Linked DNA regions of Homo sapiens: region 1 is linked to region 2. The links are contacts of gene promoters, found by promoter capture Hi-C in human tissues and cell types (Jung and others, 2019). All regions are on one chromosome and are shown on one strand. The core of a region is centred on a gene start or on the middle of the fragment in contact, and the rest is flanking DNA. Distances in the headings are between cores, read along the strand shown. Region 1 overlaps GOLGA3 (golgin A3). Region 2 holds the start of ZNF140 (zinc finger protein 140).

What was found. The method cuts DNA at HindIII sites, captures the fragments that hold promoters and counts their contacts. A contact is called where the count stands out against the background at its distance.
Region 1: a fragment that was not itself captured here is called in contact with the fragment with the promoter of ZNF140 in region 2 in 1 of the 25 tissues and cell types used here (lymphoblastoid cells).

What each region holds. Positions count from the first base shown.
Region 1 is chr12:132,815,655-132,819,694 of GRCh38, forward strand. GOLGA3 (golgin A3) reads right to left here. Exons shown (of 24, transcript NM_001389683.1): 3 at 886-1,158. Among named protein-coding and RNA genes, the nearest start is that of GOLGA3, 11 kb to the right of the region's middle. The HindIII fragment of the contact is 4,457 bases long and covers 1-3,732 here.
Region 2 is chr12:133,077,933-133,082,177 of GRCh38, forward strand. It overlaps ZNF140 (zinc finger protein 140), which reads left to right and starts at 2,991. Exons shown (of 5, transcript NM_003440.4): 1 at 2,991-3,140; 2 at 3,341-3,397. The coding sequence starts at 3,389. RefSeq lists enhancers at 2,020-2,709, 2,780-2,979. The HindIII fragment of the contact is 23,175 bases long and covers 1-4,245 here.

The sequences.
Region 1 (4,040 bases), core at 254-2,753, 260 kb before region 2:
GGAGGCCAAGGTATGACGATCACTTGAGCCCAGGAGTTCAAGACCAGCCTGGGAAACATGGTGAGACCCCGTTTCTACACACACAAAAAATTAAAATTAGCCAGGTGTGGTGACACGCACCTGTGGTCCAAGCTACTTGACAGCAGAGGCAGGAAGATCCCTTGAACCTGGGAGGCAGAGGCTGCAGTGAGCTCTGACTCTGCCACTGGCCTCCAGCCTGGGCGACAGAGCAAGATCCTGACTCTAATTAAAAAACAAAACAGGCTGGGCCTGGTGGCTCACGCCTGTAATCCCAACACTTTGGGAGGCCAAGGCAGGCAGACCATGAGGTCAGGAGATCAATACCATCTTGACTAACACGGTGAAACCCCATCTTTGCTAAAAATACAAAAAATTAGCCGGGCCTGGTGGCGGGTGCATGTAGTCCCAGCTACTCGGGAGGCCGAGGCAGGTGAATGGCATGAACCCAGGAGGCGGAGATTGCAGTGAGCCGAGACAGCGCCACTGCAGTCCGGCCTGGGCGAAAGAGCGAGACTCTGTCTCAGAAAAAAAAAGCAAACCAAAAAAAACCAAAACAACAGACTGGATGCCCACCGTCTGCTTACCAAGCACCTGGGTGACACAGGACATGCAGGCTGGCCTTTAACGCAAAAGCGTCAGCACTGCTGCCAGTCAGACCACAGCAGAACCTTGACTCCACCTGCATCTTCACTCTCTAACTTGAAGCTCTCCTTGCTAAACTCACAGCCCCACGTGGGACTCAGATGGCACACGGCAGGCACAGGCACACAACAGCTCAGACAGTGAGTGCGCAGGGCACCTGCTCCCAAGGGGCTGAGCGACGCGGACGTGGAGGGTGGGAAAAGCGGGGTAACGGATGCTTACACAGTTGCGTTTCTTGCATAGGAAGACTGAGTCTGAGAGACTGCAAAGCTTCTTTTCTAACACTGCCCTCAGCACTAGTTCCCTGAGACTTCCTTAGGTTGTCATGGAAACCAGCCACACCTGGAGAGGCATCAGGGCCCACTGGGCTTGTGGTGGGATCGAGAGACGACGGAGGGTCTGGGAAGGGTGGCGTTGGCCCGTTCTGACAGAGGCCTCCCTGGCCAGGTCCATCCGGGCTTTCCCCTTCCGTGGATGCTCTGTTTACCTCGGCACCTGGAAAGACAGAGCACGCTGGACCACCATGGCTTTAACAACAAGGTGACGTCGCTTTTCAGACATGCAGCTGGAGTAGGAGAGAAGAGGATCCAGACTCATGAGCACGGCACTTTCTCATCCCACAAAGGCTTCACTCTGAGAGGAGCAGCCCATGGGCCCCGTCCCACAGGCGGGGTGGCCAGGATAAGGCCCACAGCCCCTCTGGTGTCCACGTCCTTCCTGTAAGGTGAACCTGCCCTCCACACCTCCACACTCTAACGTGAACCCGCCCTCCACACCTCTACGCTCTAACGTGAACTCACCCTCCACACCTCCACACTCTAATGTGAACCCGCCCTCCACTCCTCCACGCTCTAAGGTGAACCCGCCCTCCACACCTCCACGCTCTAAGGTGAACCCGCCCTCCACACCTCCACGCTCTAAGGTGAACCCCCCCTCCACACCTCCACACTCTAACGTGAACCCGCCCTCCACTCCTCCACGCTCTAAGGTGAACCCGCCCTCCACACCTCCACGCTCTAAGGTGAACCCGCCCTCCACACCTCCACACTCTAAGGTGAACCCGCCCTCCACACCTCCACACTCTAACGTGAACCCGCCCTCCACTCCTCCACGCTCTAAGGTGAACCCGCCCTCCACACCTCCACGCTCTAAGGTGAACCCGCCCTCCACTCCTCCACGCTCTAAGGTGAACCCGCACTCCACACCTCCACGCTCTAAGGTGAACCCACCCTCCACACCTCCACACTCTAACGTGAACCCGCCCTCCACTCCTCCACGCTCTAAGGTGAACTCACCCTCCACACCTCCACGCTCTAAGGTGAACCCCCCCCCCACACCTCCACACTCTAAGGTGAACTCACCCTCCACTCCTCCACGCTCTAAGGTGAACCCGCCCTCCACACCTCCACGCTCTAAGGTGAACCCACCCTCCACACCTCCACGCTCTAAGGTGAACCCGCCCTCCACTCCTCCACGCTCTAAGGTGAACCCGCACTCCACACCTCCACACTCTAACGTGAACCCGCCCTCCACTCCTCCACGCTCTAAGGTGAACTCACCCTCCACACCTCCACGCTCTAAGGTGAACCCCCCCCCCACACCTCCACACTCTAAGGTGAACTCACCCTCCACTCCTCCACGCTCTAAGGTGAACCCCCCCCCACACCTCCACACTCTAAGGTGAACTCACCCTCCACTCCTCCACGCTCTAAGGTGAACCCACCCTCCACACCTGTACGCTCTAACGTGAACCCGCCCTCCACACCTCCACGCTCTAAGGTGAACCCCCCCTCCACTCCTCCATGCTCTAAGGTGAACCCACCCTCCACTCCTCCATGCTCTAAGGTGAACTCGCCCTCCACACCTCTACACTATAAGGTGAACTCACCCTCCACACCTCCACACTCTTGGCTGTAGAATTTATGTAGTAACGACAGTAACATTTCCTCTTCTCTTTTTTGAGACGGAGTCTCATTCTGCTGCCCAGGCTGGAGTTCAGTCACACAAGCTCAGCTCACTGCAAGCTCCACTCACCAGATTCAAGCGATTCTCCTGCTTCAGCCTCCCCAGTAGCTGGGATTACAGGTGCCCACCACCACACCTGGCTAATTTTTGGTCTTTTTAGTAGAGATGGGGTTTCACCATGTTGGCCAGTCTGGTCTCAAACTCCTCCCCATTCACCAGCCTCGGCCTCCCACAGTGCTGGGATTACAGGCGTGAGCCACCGCACCCAGCCAATGTTTCCTTTCCATTTAAGTAAAACCAATAAGAAATCTTATGAAAGTCGCCAGTTTAAAACAAGCGAAAACCACAAACACTTAAAACACAGCTGACAATCTTTCTAGCAGGCACTGGTAACAGCAGTGTTAATCAGAGTCACAGCCTCACATTTACAAAGGCTGATTTTGGAGTCATTTCAAAGCCTCAGCTTATCCTCCAAGGCGAGGACCCTAAGGCGAAGAGGTGGATGATGTCATCACACCACCCGTGAAGCAGAGACAGCCCAGAACCGCGCTTCTGCTTGATGACAGCCTGCTGGGTAAAGGCCTGGGTTGGACCAGTGACAATTCTATACCCACGTGTTACCTCAGTTCACCCACTAAAATGATTATATACAAATTACCCACAACACAAACTAAAACATATTTCCTCATCAAATGGAACAAAGAAAGATTTCTTTCAATGAAGTGATTTTCAGTCTTTTCCCTGCCCCCTAACTGCTGACTGGTGGGTGGGCCAGTTCACAGTCAAAGAACCAAGACATGTGAGGGGGGAGGGAGGGTCCTCAGGGGGTTCTGGTCCTGGTTCCGGTGGCTCTGGAGGCCCGGCAACACCTCCGTGTCTCACAGGGGTCAGCATTCCTCGGATCCCACGTGCATGCAGGACAGCAAATTTGCTTTTTGCTCAAGCAAATTAAAAATGAGTTTCTTAGCCGGGCGCGGTGGCTCACGCCTGTAATCCCAGCACTTTGGGAAGCTGAGGCAGGTGGATCACGAGGTCAGGAGATCGAGACTATCCTGGCTAACACGGCGAAACCCCGTCTCTACTAAAAATACAAAGACTTAGCTGGGCGTGGTGGCGGGCGCCTATAGTCCCAGCTACTTGGGAGGCTGAGGCAGAAGAATGGCGTGAACCCTCGAAGTGGAGCTTGCAGTAAGCTGAGGTCGTGCCACTGCACTCCAGTCTGGGCAACAGAGCGAGACTCCGTCTCAAAAAAAGAAAAGGTTTCTTTCACTTGCAAATGTGAGTTCAAACTAACAGCAGATACTTACTGTCATGCCTCCCGAAAGAAAAACCAGAATAAAAGCAGGGGTGCCAGACAGGAAGCCAGACCACGGGCACCCGACCAACGCACTGAGACGCCTTTCATGCAAAGG
Region 2 (4,245 bases), core at 1,741-4,240:
AAGCTCCTTCACAAGGACTTTTTTTTCAGTCTCATGTCTTTTCACCAGGCCAGTGAATTTCCTCTTTTTTTGCCCTCTTCCATTTTGTATAATGGGCTTTTTCTTTTTTGTCTCTCTTTTTCATAAACTGTTCTCTCGATCTGGAACAATACTCCTTTGATTCAGTGGGTTGACTCTTCCCTAACCTCGTATTTCAGCATACAGTTGGTGCTCTTCAAGCACAGGGATGTGACTGGCTTGCTTCCCCAAAACCTCTCCTACGTGCCCAGGACAGTGCCCCACACAATGCTGGGAGTAGAGGCGCCCCCAGGTCACTGGGCGTCCAGCCCCTGTAGGTGCAATCCAGCGCCTCTTTCCAGAAGGCTTCTGGGGGAGGGCTCGAGCTGGAGCACATGAAAAACCAGGGCCGCTCCAGCGTTCCTTCTCAGGTAACATGAGACTGCTCAGAGACTGCTCGAGGCTGGGGGAATCCCAGAGGGAGAAGCCATGGCTGTGCCGGTACCAAGTAGAGACTGGGCCGCTCCATAAGGCCACGAGGGACTCGGAGTCACATCCTCTGAGACCACTGTTTCAAGGTGACCTGGGAGCGTTGCAAGGATTCTGGTTATTACAGTTATACGAAGCCAAAGCATCAGGGGTGCTTGAATCAGAGCAACTCCATCTTGTTTTTTATTTTATTTGTTGTTGTTGTTTTGCTCTTTTTTTTTTTTTGACACAGTCTCGCTCTTTCGCCCAGGCTGGAGTGCAATAGCGCGATCTCAGCTCACTACAACCTTCGCCTCCCAGGTTCAAGCAATTCTCCTGTCTCAGCCTCCGGAGTAGCTGGGATTATAGGCGTGCACCACCACGCCCAGCTAGTTTTTGTATTTTTAGTAGAGATGGGGTTTCACCATGTTTGTCAGGCTGGTCTCAAACTTCTGACCTTGTGATTCGCTGGCCACAGTCTCCCAAAGTGCTGGGATTACATGCGTGAGCCACCACGCCCGGCCTGTATTTTTTTTTTATTTTTATTTTTTGAGATGGAGCCTCACTCTGTCGCCCAGGCTGGAGTGCAGTAGCGCCAACTTGGCTCACTGCAAGCTCCACCTCCCAGGTTCAAGTGATTCTCCTGCCTCAGCTTCCCAAGTAGCTGGGAATACAGGCACCCACCACCATGCCCAGGTAATTTTTGTATTTTTAGTAGAGACGAGGTTACACTCTGGCCTGTTGGCCAGGCTGATTGCAAACTCCTGACCTCAGGTGATCTGCCCGCCTTAGCCTCCCAAAGTGCTGGGATTACAGGCATGAGCCACAGCACCCGGCAACTCCATCTTAAATAAGAACTGGGTAAAATAAGGCTGAGGCATACTGGGCTGCGTTCCAAGACCGTTAGGCATTCTAACTCACAGTATGAGACAGCAGGTCAGCATGAGACACAGGTCATAAAGACCTTGCTGATAAAAGTTTACAGTAAAGAAGCCGGCTAAAACCCACCAAAACCAAGATGGCAATGAGAGTGACTTCTGGCTGTCCTCATTGCTACGTCTTCCACTGTCAGAGGCGGTTGAACCAGGGCAACTCTATCTTGAGTAGGGGCTGGTTAAAATAAGGCTGAGACCTGCTGGGCAGCATTCCCTGGAGGTTAAGGCATTCGTAGTCACAGGATGAGACATGAGGCTGGCACAAGATACAGGTCATAAAGACCTTGCTGATAAAACAGGTTGCAGTAAAGAAGCCGACTAAAACCGAGATAGCGATGAGAACGACCTGATTGTCCTCACTGCCCACCAGTGGCTATGGCAACGTCAGGAAGTTACCCTATATGGTCTAAAAAGAGGATGCATGAATAATCCACCCCTTGTTTAGCATATCATCAAGAAATAACCACAAAAATGCGCAACCAGCAGCCCTCGGGGCTGCCCTGCCTATGGATTAGCCATTCTTTATTCCTTTACTTTCCTAATAAACTTGCTTTCACCTTATGGATTCGCCTCAAATTCTTTCTTGTGCAAGATCCAAGAACCCTCTCTTAGAGTCTGAGATCCGGACCCCTTTCCAGTAGCAAAAGGTCTTAGACTGAAGTACTGACTCCACAGTCGTTGTTAAGAATCCTAGTTGTTTAATAGAGGCGGTCTTGGGCTCTTGCTGGGCCGCGGTGTGTTCTGGGAAGTGTAGTCACCTGAGTCTCCAGTTCCTTGTCTCTGGGCCGTGTGTGCACGCCAGCGAAGCACTGTGGGAGTCGTAGTAGGGGAGGAAAACCCTATACCCTCTGGCGTGCGGCGCAGGAGTTTGGGGGAATGTAGTCGCCAGAGCTCTGCGTTGTCTTCCGGCTTTGGGCGTGGCCACGATGCACTCTGGGAGTCGTAGTAGGGGAAGAACGTCCTCCGCTCTTTTGCGCACGGTCGCTAGAGGTTCTGGGAAGTGTAGTTGCCTGAAGCTCGTGTTCTTTGTCTTTCGATGATGTGCGCTTGGCCTCAAAGCACCCTGGGAGTTGCAGTGGGGCGGGGAAAGCCATATGCTCTCTCGCGCGGGGTCGCGGTTGTTTCTGGGAAGTGTGGTGGCCTGAGTTCCACGTTCTTCGTTTCTCCGCTAGTTGTGCGCTTGGCCGCGAGACACTCTGGCAGTTATAGGAACACAAAGGTCTGTGTACTCTTCCGCGGGGGGCCGCGGTTATTTCTGGGAAATGTAGTTGCCTAGGACCCGGGTTCTTTGTTTCTCGGCTCTGGGCGTGGGAGGATAGCCCCTATGCTCTGGCGCACCGGGCCGCGATGGCTCTGGGAATTGTAGTTGTCGCAGGCCCTCGTTCTTTGTCTCCTGGCGTTCTGGGCACGGCAGCGAGGCGCTCTGGGAGTTCCAGTAGGAACGAAAAGCCCTTGCGCGCAGGGCCGCATTGGTTTCTGGGAATTGTAGTTTCTTGAGGCCGGCGGCCTGGTTGGGGTGACGTCGGCGAGGCTTCTGAAGACGCAATTCCTGCGACGCCCGCGGAGGGGCCCTGGGGGGCGGCGCCGAGCGTCTGGCCTGTGTTGGCTGTAGGCAACGAAAGGAGCCCTCCCGGTCTGCGCCGGATGGCCCCGGGCGGTGACTCGGTCCGGAGCCCTGGAACGCTACGCCCACCTGGCGGAAAGCACCACGGAAACGCATCCTTCTGTGGCCACTGTTAGGTGAGGGGGTTCTGGGGAGGCGCGCCGTGGCAGGAAGAGAAAGCCGGCGCCAGTGGTCCAAGCGCGATCTCTCAGGGCGCCCTGCTCTCTACGTGGGAGGCGCGGAGCGGGGGCCACGGGAATCCCCAGTGCGGGAATCTAGTGACTTGGGCGCGGCCTAGCTGGCCTGTTCGCTCAGGGCTCCTTTCTCTCTCTGCCAGGTCTGCCATTTTACACTTTTCTGATCTCCTCCTTCCCTTCTGTGAGCTATGTCTCAGGTAAGCTAATGATTGATAAATATATATATATATATATATATAAATTTTTATTTTTTTTTTAAGAGAGAGACAGGGTCTCCTCCTGTCGCCCAGGCAGTGGAGCGATCATAGCATCCTGTAACCTCAAACTCTTGGCCTCAAGTGAGCCAACCCACTTGGCCTGTTTCCGCTTTTCTTTGTGAAGTGCAGCCGTGTTTTTCAGGACTTGGGACGTGGCTTTCTTTCTCCTACAACCACCTGCCTGGCAGAACCCCAGGACCCTGTCCCTTGTTCCTCCTTTTCAGGTGCTTATACTTAAGTATACATGAAGAGAGTGACAGGAAGCTATCCAGATGTGGGCGGGGTTTCTGACCTGGCTGGCATGTTTTAGGGTGAGAGGGTAGGGTGCCAGCTGTTACATCGCCTCCTCTTTCCCACAGTGTTAGAATGAGGAGTGCTTTACGTTACTCCAGCGCCCCTTTATTCATTTATTCAATATGTTTTTACTGAACCTCTACTTTCAGTGGTTCCCACAGTGTGATCCTTGGACCAGCAGTATCAGCATCATCTGAGAACGTATTAGAAATGAATATTCTTGAGTCCTACCCCAGACCTTCTGAATCAGAAACTGAGAATTTGGCCCAGCAGTCTAACAGTCCTTCCAAGTGATTCTAATGTGCAACTCATTCTAAGTCTTGAGGATGCAGAAGTGACCAAAACAAAATCTCCGAATCCTCAGAGCTCATTTTTCAGACATGACATAAGGAACACATTTTTATTTTGATTTGGCCTAAGGGCTTGGCTGGTAATTGTGCTTCACAGCAGTGGGGATAACAGGGTCAACTATTCAAAATGAGTCCCTCATTTCA